Linked DNA regions of Homo sapiens: regions 1 and 2 are each linked to region 3. Evidence: promoter capture Hi-C in 16 types of primary human blood cells and fetal thymus (Javierre and others, 2016). All regions are on one chromosome and are shown on one strand. The core of a region is centred on a gene start or on the middle of the fragment in contact, and the rest is flanking DNA. Distances in the headings are between cores, read along the strand shown.

Region 1 (4,490 bases), core at 1,713-4,212, 740 kb before region 3:
CTCCCCTGAGTGGTAGAGAAACCAGGCTTTGAACCTAGGGCTGTCTGACTGCAGGGCAGTGTGCAAGTCACAGCAGGAGCTAGCACCTTGACTTTGTCCTTTAATAACACCTCTCACAATTGTAATTCATCAATTGTATCATCATGAGTTTATTGTCTGCCTTCCTGGCCACACTGTCTGCTCTAGAACGACCAGAGCCATGCCTGTGTCGTCCACAGCTATGTCCTCAGCACCAGCAAATAATGGGCCTGGCACAAAATGGAAACCTGCTTTCATTCATTAAAAGAATTTTTAAATGAATGAATGAAATTAACAAACAAAAATGACATAGATATCCTGCTCTGTAGCATGTGATGATGGTCACATTCTCAGCTCCTTGCTAACTCTCACCTGGCTTGTTAAAATAATTTCCTTATTGTCTCCACATTTCTGCTAATTTTACCCTCCTGCATAAGGGAATAAGCTTGATCTTTCCTTCTTTTTTTTATCATTAAATTACACTGGAAGGCTTGATCTTTCTTAAAAAGCACACTTGAGCGTGTGTGGTGATTCAGCACTTTGGGAGGCCAAAGTGGGAGGATCCCTTGAGCCCAGGAGTTCAAGACCAGTCTGGGCAACATAGCAAGACTCCATCTCTACCAACAACAACAAAAAATAGTTGGACACAGTGGCACACACTTGTGTTCCCAGCTAATCGGGAGGCTGAAGTGAGAGGATCACTTGAGCCCAGGACGTCAATGCTGCAGTGAGCCATCATCATGCCACTGCGCTCCAGCCTGTGAGTGACAGAGTGAAACCCTGTCTCAACAGAAAAAGGGGAAGAAAAAGCACACTCATAGCACATTGCAGGCCTCCTGAAAGTTGTTACCAGTGCCCCATTCCCTGCAGGACAGAGTCTGAGCTACTGGGAAGGGCTTCTAAGGCTATGTGCTTCCCATCTGCCTCTGGAACCTTAGTTGGCTGCTCTGAGGCCCAGGCCTTGCCCCCGGCAACCTCAAGCACTTTATAACACCAGCCTTTCTGAGCTACCTCACTGGTTCCCAACCTTGCTTTCTTTACCAGAAATCTCCTCCCCACCTCCTATCAAACCCCAACCCCATGCCTTGCTTTGTGTGCCTGATAGACGTTAGCTCACTCTTTTTCCCCAGATGTGGTAAAATTCACAAAACATGGGACGGGTGCAGTGGCTCACACCTGTAATCCCAGCTCAGGAGTTTGAGACCAGCCTGGGCAACATGGCGAAACCATGTCTCTACCAAAAATACAAAGAAATATAGCCAGGTGTGGTGGCATGTGCCTGTCGTCCCAGCTACTCCAGAGGCTGAGGTGGGAGGATCACTCGAACCCGGGAGGCGGAGGTTGCAGTGAGCTGTGATCGCACCACTGCACTCCAGCCTGGGTGACAGAGTGGGACCTTGTCTCAAATTTAAAAATAGACAAATAAATAAATCGAAAAGACCCAAGGCTTCTTGGAAGAGGTAGGAATCAAACTGGTCATTGAAAGTCATGTGGGCATCATTCAAAGAGTGGATTTGAGGAGGCACAGAGAGGACCAAGAAAGCACATTAGAGGCCCAGAGAATGAGGCTTGAGCAAACCCTGTGGGAGAAGGGGTGTTGAGCAGATTCTAGAAGGATGTGGCTGAAGCAGAGGACATGTGGGCACAGTTGGAGATAGGCCTGGAAAAGTAGATTGGGACCAAGTGTGTAATGAATCTGTAGTCAATGAGGAACTATGAAATGTGAAAATTGCGGCTGGGCACGGTGGCTCACACCTGTAATTCTTTCACTCTGGGAGGCCAAGGCAAGAGGATTGCTGGAGGCCAGGAGTTTGAGACCAGTCTGGGCAACATAATGAGACCCTGTCTCTCCAAAGAATTAAAAACTTAGCTGGGCATGGTGGCACACACCTGTAGTCCTAGCTACTTGGGAGACGGAAATGGGAGGATTGGGTAAGCCCAGAGGTTTGAGGCTGCAGTGAGCTATGATCACACCACAGCACCCTGGGACAGAGCAAGATCTTGTCTCTACAAATAAATAAATATGATCTGAAAATTGAGTATGAAATACTCAGAATACTGAGATCATGGTTTAGGAAGATAACTGCAGGGTCTACAGGAGGATGGGTTTAAATGGGGAGAGACTAACTACTAGGTTTGCACACTCAGATGCCTACAGAGGGCAGACAAGGAACAAAATTGCAATAGGTACCTGGTCAACTGAACCACACATACCTTCTCATCAGTGGGCTGCCGCTGCTCAGTTCCAGCCAATGCTGCCATGTAGATTATGAGTCCAGTGTTATCAGATTTTTCCATTTTTCAGGGAAAGCCAAACAATACAGATTTTCATGAGATGCTAACTTGTTTAAAATTTTTATTTTTAATTAATTTAATTTAATTTTAATTTTTTAAATTTATTTATTTTTTCTTGGGAGACGGGGTCTTGCCCTGTCATCCAGGCTGGAGTACAGTGGCGCGATCACAGCTCACTGCAGCCTCAAACTCCCTGGTTCAAAGGATTTTCTCACCTCAGCCTCCCAAGTAGCTGGGACTACAAGCACGTGCCACCACACCTGGCTGATTTTTGTATTTTCAGTAGAGATGGGGTTTCACCATGTTTCCCAGGCTGGTCTCAAACTCCTGGGCTCAAGCTGTCTGCCCACCTCGGCCTCCCAAAGTGCCGGAATTACAGGCAAGAGCCACTGTGCCTCGCCCAGGACTCTAACTTTTAAGTATGAACTTGTAAGTTAAAATGACTCTCAGACCACCTGTGTGGAGTCTCTGAGAAAAGAGTAAACTATTTTAATAGTCCAGGAAGAAGTGACCAAGTCCTTATCTAGGGCAGTGGCAATGGGAACCAAACATGGAAACAGACAGCACAAAACCTGGTGGAAGTAGGATCCACTGAATTTGATGACTAACTGGATGTAGAAAATGAAGAAGAAATGTTGAGAAAGACTCTGATGTTTCCAGTCTATATGCCTTAGAGGAAGCTGATGCCCCAGGCAGCTTCATAAAATGGAACAAGAATAGATGTTGAATCAGAGAGAACTAGCTCAAACGCAGCTCTACCACTTACTAGCTATGTGACCTTGAACATGTTACCTAACGTCTCTGAGCCTTGGCTTCTTCGTCCATTATATGAGGTTAATCTGAATGCATCCCTCTTGAGTCATTTATACAGATCAAATGGGGTCATGCACCTAGTGTGCTTAGCACAGAGTGTGGCACATAGTAAGAGCTCAAAGGTTTGTTGTTGAAATTTATTGGCAACATTCCTTTACTCTACGTTCAGCAAGAGCCTCCACTGTTTTCTTTTCTTTTTTTTTTTTTTTTTTTTTTTTTTTTGAGATGGAGTCTCGCTCTGTCACCCAGGCTGCAGTGCAGTGGCACAATCTTAGCTCACTGCAACCTCTGCCTTCCGGGTTCAAGTGATTCTCGTGCCTCAGCCTCCCGAGTAGCTGGGATTACAGACACAAGGCACTGTGCCAGCCTCTTTTTTTTTCTTTTTTAAGAAAAACTCTCACTCCATCACCCAGGCTGGAGTGTAGTGGCATAATCTCGGCTCACTGCAACCTCTGCCTCCAGGTTCAAGCGATCCTCCCACCTCAGCCTCCAGAGTAGCTGGGACTACAGGCACACACCACCACACCCGGCTGTATTTTTTGGTATTTTTGGTAGAGGCAGGGTTTCGCCATGTTGCCCACGCTGGTCTCGAACTCCTAACGTTAAGTGATCCACCCACCTCAGCCTCCCAAAATGCTGGTATTACAGGCATAAGCCATTGTGCCCAGCTTAGGTCATGTCATTTTTGGGTTGGATTTTCTGACATGTGTCACCAAAAGATTCCTAACTGATTTGATTACAACTACTATTACCATGACTTTTCCACTTTGATTCCAAATGATGTCATAGGCTTTGTAGAGTTTAAAGCTGGCAGCCCCTGGGAAGGCTATCTCTAGTGGTGGTACCTCGAAGACGAGGTCCTGTTCTTGGATACCTCTAAGATGAGAGGATGAACAGAACACGTATTTGTGAAAGGTCCAAGGTACTCTGTGAAGGTGCAGTGAACCTGTCAAAGCTCAGCACACCTTACATCAGTTCAGCATACTTTCAGCCCCATTTTGCTTGTTAGAGAATGACTGTATCAAGGAACCAGTGGTGTGAACTGGATTAGTTCACTTATTAAAAACATGTTTTTATGTTTACATTAACTGCCTTCCTCACTAAACTGTCCGCTTTGCATATATGGACTTTCTCATCTTTACAGACTTTGCAGACAGAGAGAGCCTTTGAGATCATCTAGGCCAAAGTTATCCAACGTATAGTAAAGGGGTCACTCTTTTCAAAGTTGAGAAGTGGAGTCAGGCACTGTAGCTCACACCTGTAATCTTAGCACTTTGGGAGGCCGAGGCAGAAGGATTGCTTGAGAACAGGAGTTTGAGATCAGCCCGTGCAACATAGTGAGAACTCATCTCGATTTTGTTTGT
Region 2 (4,253 bases), core at 980-3,479, 790 kb after region 3:
ACATCCTATGTCCCTAGTAAAACAGTGGATTCTGCTACCTGTGGGTCAGAGTTCCACCTCTGTCCAATCAGCCATGGCTGGGAGGTGTCTTATGTTACAGTAGCAGACCCTGCCTGGCAAAGTAGCACCTGAGCATGTCTGCAGATGGTCCCCAACTTACAATGGTTCAACTGACCCCTTTTTGACCTTAGGAAGTTGTGAAAGGGATGCACATTCTGTAGAAACCTTACTTTGAGTACCCATACAATTATTCTGTTTTTCACTTCAGTGCAGTATTCAATCAATTACATGAGATATTCAATACTTTATTATAAAATAGGCTTTGTGGTAGATGATTTTGCCCAACCGTAGGCTAAAGTAAATGTTCTAAGCACATGTAAGGTAAGCTGGGCTAAGCTATGATGCTCTGTGGGTTACGTATATTAAGTGCATTTTCGACTAACAATATTTTCAACTTATAATGGGTTTATCAGGTTGTAATCTCATTATAAGTGGAGAAGCATCTGTGTTAAATCGCATGCTACAGACTCTTCAGCCGCACTTAACTGTTTGTTATTTACTGCGTATGTACCCCATGCTCTTTCAAGCCTTCATGCCTTTGTTTCTCGCAGGAAATTCTCTCTCCACTCCCAATCCATCTTCTCCTTCCTTAAGGAACTGATCCTCTATGGCATAACATGACACCTTCCCTAAGTAACTTCATGACACCTTCCCTAGGTACCTTTCATAAGCCCTCTGACATTACTACGCATTTTTCACTCATCTGTCTTCCCATTGAGTTATTATGCACCCTGCACTTGAAATAAGACAAACCGTTGCCTCACCAACTTATTGAATATGCTACCTTAGGAAAGCTATTTAGAGTCTCTGTATAATGGTGGATAATTATATTTATTTGGGAGGGTTGTAAGGACAAATATAGCACATGGCAAGTACTCAAAAAGTACTAATTATTATCTTTATTCTTATTATGAACACCTATAAAAGAGGAGCTATAAAATTATAATATTATAATAGATATCGTCTCTCAAAGAGACAATGGATTACATGGAAAACCCAATAATTTGTATGGTTTACCATAGCTTTCCTGCCATTTTGCAAACATACCAGGCACACATCCTCATTTCAAGGCCTTTGACTTTTTGTTCTCTCTGCCAATAACTCAGTTTTTCTAGACAGATGTATGGCTGGTTTCTTTCTTTCATTCAAGTCTTTGCTCAGTTTTTTCCCTCTTCAAAGAAGGCTTTTGGACAATTCCATCTAAAGTAGCAAGCCTCCACCATTCTCTAGCCATTTGCCTAGACTTTATTTTTCTCTATATTATTATGAAACATCCTACCTATGTGTGATCCACATATGTCACCTCTACAAATACAAGCTCCACGGGCAAAGGTTTCATCTGTTTTGTTTCTTGTCCAATCTCCAGTGCCTAAAACAGTGTACATTTAGGTCCCTAATAATTTTTTTAATGAATAAATGTTTGGACTTACCAGGAGTCCAAAAATGTTTTTTATTGATTTGAGCTAAGTTGATACATGCAAAAGTATATGCCATGTATCCAGTGGAAGTTGAGTTCAGAGAGAGGAGCCATTATAATGATTTTATATATTTACAAATCTTTACAGTTTATAAAGCATGTTCACAAGCTTTTTTCTGTTTACTCCTAAACTTCAAGCTTTCTAGAGATACCCAGTGGCCTCAGAAGACACTGCTCAAAATTGCAAATGTCTCTAAGTTAGAAACTGGTGCCCTTGACACAACGTAGGATAGCATTTAAAAATATGGTCATTATTTTTGAATGTGTATGTTTGAAAAAATATATTTTTATATATATTTTTAGCCTGGATAAATTGGTATTAGTCTTATCTTTCTTTCACAGATGATGAATCTGAGGCTCAGGGAATCTGCCTAAAGTCATGACCTAAAAAATGCAAAGCTCAGTCTAACATTCAAGGCTGTCTGACTCCTAAAGTGATGTTAAACCCAAAAGATACATTCCTTGGCCAAGAATAAAAAACTTTCAACCTCAGCAATCACAGACAATCTATTTCAGCAATCTCTTCTTGCCTAACTTTCTCTTTCTCAAAAGTTAATATAGAATGCTATCTTCCATATCCACCACCGACAGATAATGGAGATGGTGACCTATCATTCTTGCTAGTGCCTTGGGCTTCTTGGAACTGTGTTCTGCGAATTTACTGCGCTGCCACACAAAAGCAAATACTTCCTTCTCAGTCACCGATGCACTGATACAGTGAAACAACAACTCTAAAAGGAACTTCTGGAATCTCCCCCGCAGTTCCCCTGTTGAGAAAAAGATTCTCAGGCACAGGCATTAAACAATTGCTCAGACATAAAGAGCTAAAAATAGCAAATGCAATAATAAAATGTAGACTTTACAAAGCATTTTGTATTTTGTTAAGATAGCCTAGACCAAATCAAATATGTGAGCCAGGCACGTGGCTCATGCCCGTAATCCCTGCAGTTTAGGAGGCTCAGGAGGAAGAGAATTGCTTGAGCCCAGGAGTTTGAGACCAGCCTGAACAACATAAAAAGACCTCATCTCTACCAAAATAATAATAATCATATATGTGAAATAGACGTGGTAAGGGATAAAGGAACTCAACTATCAAAATTACTTTTTTACTGAATCGTCGAATTCAACCTGTTTTGCTGTTGATGGTGAGGCAGTGTGCAGTAGTGAGAAAGCCTGGGGATTTATTAATCAGCACCCTCTTCTGACCCTCATGAACTAAGGGGTGAGTTAGCCAACCCAAGCTTCTGCCTCCTCATCTGTAAAAATGGGGGTAATAATACCTACTTTACAGGATGATGTTATAAAAATAAATCTAAGTAGAGCAAATAAAGAATCTAAGCTATAATGAGTAGCCAGTAATGGTACTTAATATTAATGTTAATATTATTTTTGCACTCTCACCTCCCATCTGCAAATGAGTTAATTGACATGGACCTGGTGGTGTAGTCAGCAGCAGTTTTAATCTCTCATATCCGACAGGAAGCTCATGGACTTTGTGGGTTCTTTATCCTTTATGTCAAAATAGTACCCTACCTATTTCTCAGTAATATCATTGAAAAGCCCATTTAAAAAAATTCAGATTTCTAGAAAATTACCATACATACACACTATCAAACACAACAGTACCTAGTCTTCTCAGAATGAGGTGATTGTTACAGAATCAGAAACAATGAAGCAAATATAAAACATGTATAAATGCTAATCAGAGAGTATTGTTTTCAAAACTAAATTTCAATGAATGTCATGTAAGTGAAAAATAGACAAGGTCCACATTTATGCAATCCTCAAATGATTATCCATTTGAAAGAGATGTGCTGTATATTTAAACCTACACAAGGCACAGCGGTGTTAGCCTACAGGAAATTAACAGTGCAGCAATGCTGCCCTCTTGTGTTGGAAAATAAAACAAAAGAAAATATTTTATTTCTGCATCTGGGAAGCACAGAACACACTCAAATTTAAATGATTAAATACCTTCTGTAATACTTTTCTGATATGCAGTTACGAACATTTGTTTCAAAAGAAGTTTTAAATATAACTATATAAGTCATAACTACAGATACAAAACTGCAGATTACTGCAGATATACAACTGCAGATAAAACAGGTTAAAAAGATAAGGTAACACTATGGTATTTTGCGTGTGTGTATGTGTGTGCGCGCGCGCGCGCGCGTGTGTGTGTGTGTGTATCACATTATACCAACATACTAAAAAACTTAGTCAAAATGGACACATTATTAGAAAAAACATAACATTAAAACAGTATTAAGAATAAAGAGTAGGCTTTAAATAGGTTAAAAACGAATCACAGTTTTAAAAAATCTTCCCATGAAGAAAATATCAGACCCAGATATTGTATAGGTGAATCCTACCACATTATTTATAAATTTTAAACTCTTCCCCAAAAGATAAAAAGAGGGCACAATCTTCAAGTCACTCTAAGAGCCTACCATATCATTGATACTTTTTAAAATACCACAATGTGGGAAAAAAATATCAGTCAACTTCACTTATGAAACTAGATGCAAAAAAATTAAATAAAATATAGGCAAACTTTCCAAATATAAATTTAAAACCATAATAATATATCTTGACCAAGTTGAGCTTATTTTAGGAAGGAAAAGGCAGTTTATCATTAGAAAATATATTTATCACCATATCAATAAATTTTTTAAAAAAACCATCTCAATAAGTGCAGGGAAAAATATAATTTAAA
Region 3 (4,353 bases), core at 1,190-3,689:
ACCTTGTACTTGCCCATTTTATCTCTTTTTATGTCCCCGAGGAAGTGTTTTTTTCTCCTAATAAACATTACGAACCTATTTATTCAATAAATGAATTTACAATTTTAGACAGTTACTCACTCTTTGATGCGCCCATGAATTTCCTTTCGCCAAAATTCATGATTACTTAGAGAAGAAATACTCCCTCTTTTCTTCCATGAATGAGCTGCTCTGCCTTTAGCATTGTCTGACATCATCATAACCTATGGAAGAAGACTTTTGTAAAATAGCAAAAGAAAGATCCGGAAACATTTTAGTTAGTATAACAGGGACTAATCTCAAAGTACACAGATAGTTTTCCTACCATTTTTGAACAGGAAAGTGGGGTTTCCTCAAGAGCAATATATAGAATTTGTTGTTATTCTGATCAGTGAAACTGGAACTATGATAACTCTGAAAATGCTTATTTATGCAATAGTATAATTATTTACATAAGCAGATATTAAGCTATAGCAAAAATGCTTAGCTGATGAAGACGGAGGTCATTGACAAAAGATATGCATGTATAGCAGAAAGATGCTATCCTACATCAGAAACCAATATTTGTATTGCCCCCCAAATGTAACCATAATACAACTTTGCTAATTAATATTTGCTGTCACTGTTATATTTTATTTTTGAGACAGGGTCTTGTTCTGTCACCCAGGTTGGAGTGCAGTGGCATGATCATGGCTCACTACTGCCCCAAACACCTGGGCTCAAGCGTTCCTCCCAACTCAGCCACCTGAGTAGCTGGGACTGCAGGTGTATGCCATCAAGCTGGGCTAATTTTTAATTTTTTGTAGAGATAGGGTCTATGTTGCCCAGGCTGGTCTTGAACTCCTGGGATCAAGCAATCCTGCTTCAGCCTCCCAAAGTGCTGGGATTACAGGCATGAGCCACTCTACCTGGCCTATTTTATTATTTTAGAGACAGGATCTAGCTCTTGTTACCCAGGCTGGAGTGCAGTGGCATGATCATAGCTCACCGTAACTTCAAACTCCTGGGCTCAAGCGGTCCACCCACCTCAGCCTCCCTAGTAGCTAGGACTACAGGCCTGCACCACCATGCCTAGCTAATTTTTAAACATTTTTGTAGAGACAAGATCTTTCTGTGTTGCCCAGGCTGGCCTTAATCTCCTGGCCTTAAGTGATCCTCCTGCCTTGGCCTCCCAAAGTGCTGGAATTACAGGCATCAACCACTGTGCCTGACCCACCATGACTTTAAAAAATAAAATTAGGGGTAGGGAGCTAGAAAATAAATAAATAAATAAAAATTAAAATTAACCTTGCTTTCCCAAAGATTTTTTGTTGTTTGTTTTGTTTTCTCGAGCAACATTTACATAGTTTGTAAAGAGCAAATAGGACTTAACTTTTAAATAAATAATTTATTGGAAAACTCCCTCCTTCCTACTAATACTTGTTAAAAAGCTGGTAGTAGCAATGGACTTCCCAGAACTTGGACTATAACTCTAATAATGCCCTCATTGTCTACCTACAAATTTAAGTATTCATTTAAATTATTTCATAATCTATAAATGTGAGAGCCCCGATAAGGAAATACTGTGCTAGACACCAAAGCATAAAAATAGAAGAGAATCCATGCCTTCAAGGAGCTGGCAGTTGAGTAGGTAGGGCACACAAGAACATACCCTAAAACCCAGTGGCATCAATGTCAGAGCAGAGGTGCTGTGTGTGGGTGAGGCAGGCAGCGTGGTGTGTGTGTGCACGTGAGTGTGAGCGTCCTTGAGTGTGTACCTGTGAGTGTGCATCTCTGTGTGTGCAGGTGCCTGTGTGTATAAGTGTGTCTGTGTTCGTGTGTACGAAGGTGAGTGTGTTTATGAGTGTGGAAAGACACACAGCCTGATTAGGTGGGTCATTCAGGTTTTGCTGCAAAGCCACATAGACCCATCTCGGCCTCAGCTGTTTCCAAAGCTGCCCTGCAGGCCGCCCCCTCCCCAAGAAAGGCCAGAGTTGGGACCTGGAGGTCCTCATGGGTGCGGCCAGCCACAGGAAGACCGCCCCGGGTCAGGGGATGACCTTGCTGGCCGGCTCTGCGTTGGCCATCACTCTTGAAGCCCAGCCCCCAGCCATGCAATGGGGCAGGGGACGAACCGTTGGGACCGACTTTCAGTTCCCAAATTTGGGATCATTTTTTCTTATGTGTTGGGGAGAGGAGGAATAAGGTGGCGGAGAGATCGGGGCCAAGTAGGGCCATTTCTCAACAAAGGGCCGATCCCTTGCCCCCTATCCTTCCTTTGGGGTCCAGACGCGCTGCAGAGAGAGGCGACCCTACCTGCAGCAGGGAGGCTTCGCCCGGAGCCTCCCAGACCTCCGGCACTGCAGACACTGCGCGCGGCGCGGCTCCCGCGTCCCAGGCTTCATTCAGCCGGCGGCCGCCCGCGCACTCTCCCTGGACTCTGAGGCCGGTCTCCAGGGTGACCTCAAACAGAGCCCTCGGCCCTCCCCGGCCGGACTTGGCCGCTGAGTGGCCCTCTGAGCTGCCCTAAGGATGTAGAGGATCTCATCTTCACTGCCCACTGGGGGTCACTCTGAGCCGGGCTGCGTCCTGGGTTGGCGGCGAGCTGGAGGGGAACTGGTTCATTGTGTAGCGAGGAAGACATTTGGGACTAAAGACATTTGCACCCCTAGGGCCCCTCATCAAGTTCCTTTTCCCGCAGACATCAGGGGCAGGAGTGGGAAGTGCTGCGGTTTCCTAGCACAGGAAATCCGAAGCGCAAAGACAAAGTAAAGTAGCCCTGCCCTTTTCCCGGCTCCTAACGCTGCTTCGCACGTTCCCCCTCCAAGGCACAGGCGGTGGAATGTGGAGGTAAATGAGCACTTACATTGGCCAGATACCCCAGATACCGACAAACATTGGGATTTAGTCGTCCCAATAACTCTGTCAAGAAAGGAATGTTTTCCCTTTAAAGGATTTGGAAAATTGAGATTCTAAAATGTTAAATAATATGCCCAAGGCCCCTGAAACTCATGGTCTTAACTCCAATGTGTTACAAACCGGGCTGGGTTCCTTCGCTTTCCTTAACAAGACTCTTCTGAGCCTGTTAATGTCTAAGAAGCTTTGAAATGAGGCTGTTTGGGGTTGAGGACCTACCTGCTGGTATGAATGGGCTTTTCCTCTTCTTCAGCGACTATCCCCAGCCTAAGCCTGGTTTGGGCCTCCCCAAACCAAAAGCAAACAAAATAAACACTATAGGGACCCTCCTGTAGTGGGCAATCATTGGAAGCAGAAACAAGATGCCTCCAAGCATCTAGCCAAGGGCATGGCTCTTGATGAGTGTCCTGCTGGAATTAGCATTAGCTGACAGTAATACATTGGGATTCCGGTGGAGCACAGTGTTAGGATAGTGTTGGAAGAAGAGAAATAGATATTTTTGCCCATCCCAATCTCTACTCACAGAAAGATAAGAACAGGAAAGGATTGTTGATTGAATATCTACTATGGACTAGATAGGAACTGCTAGGTGATGAATAAACATTATCTCATTGAATTTGTTCAGTGACTATGACATAGGGGACATTACTCTATTTTTTTTTAAGATAAGGAAATGTAGAATCGTTGAGTAACATGCTCAAGTCGATATTTAAATCACAGAGCTGAAATTTGTCTAACTCTTAACCCTTGACCTTTGACAGACCTTTGGCCCACCATCCCTACCCTAAACATGGAATGAAGTTTTCCAGAAATGCGGGTAAAATTTTAAGAGGCTGACAGCAAAAGATATTCACAATTCAATTTATTTTCATATTTTTCATTTATTTTCCAGAAAAAGAAATCACATTTCAGTAACAACTTACATATAGAATTAAACTTTGTTCTGGAATGGGAGCCCTAGTTGCAGTAACGTGTCATAATAAATAATTGCATATTCAGGATTTTGTGAAATAGGTGATTGGGAAAATTATGAACAAAAAACATTTACAAAAATTATTATTTACAAAGAGTGATATCCATACTATTTCTAACTTATAAGGCAAGTAATGTTAAGATGGTCTCATGATTATCTTCAACAAGTCAATTACACACTTTCCTGTCACCATTGCCCAGCAGAGAGCTTTGCTGCAATTCTGTGAAGGAGCAAGTAAGTCTTCGCTTCCGTTGTTGGTTTTCTCTTGAGCACAGCATAGAAGCAGTAAAGCTTTCATTACAGACTAAGCAGTAATGGCTGTCAGAAAAAAGTATACTCTTTTGAAATAGACGTGTAGGAAAAAGGCTGGGAATCAACATTTTGACTAAATTTTGAAAGTATCTTGAGTATTTTAATTCACAGTTTTGTAAGTATTTTATGCCCAAGGTATTTTTGTGAAATTATGT

What was found. The method cuts DNA at HindIII sites, captures the fragments that hold promoters and counts their contacts. A CHiCAGO score of 5 or more calls a contact.
Region 1: a contact is called between a fragment that was not itself captured here and the fragment with the promoter of DYNLT5 in region 3, in 7 of 17 cell types (total CD4 T cells, naive CD4 T cells, total CD8 T cells and 4 more). The highest score is 8.4, in total CD4 T cells.
Region 2: a fragment that was not itself captured here is called in contact with the fragment with the promoter of DYNLT5 in region 3 in 1 of 17 cell types (naive B cells); the score reaches 7.1 in naive B cells.

What each region holds. Positions count from the first base shown.
Region 1 is chr1:67,487,536-67,492,025 of GRCh38, reverse strand. No RefSeq gene overlaps it. Among named protein-coding and RNA genes, the nearest start is that of LINC01702, 33 kb to the left of the region's middle. The HindIII fragment of the contact is 4,993 bases long and covers 466-4,490 here.
Region 2 is chr1:65,958,206-65,962,458 of GRCh38, reverse strand. All of the region lies in intron 3 of PDE4B (phosphodiesterase 4B), which reads right to left. Among named protein-coding and RNA genes, the nearest start is that of PDE4B-AS1, 90 kb to the left of the region's middle. The HindIII fragment of the contact is 1,103 bases long and covers 1,678-2,780 here.
Region 3 is chr1:66,750,545-66,754,897 of GRCh38, reverse strand. It overlaps DYNLT5 (dynein light chain Tctex-type family member 5), which reads right to left and starts at 2,439. Exons shown (of 5, transcript NM_152665.3): 1 at 2,314-2,439; 2 at 121-242. The coding sequence starts at 239. It overlaps SGIP1 (SH3GL interacting endocytic adaptor 1), which reads right to left. Exons shown (of 25, transcript NM_032291.4): 25 at 3,759-4,353. The HindIII fragment of the contact is 3,147 bases long and covers 1-3,099 here.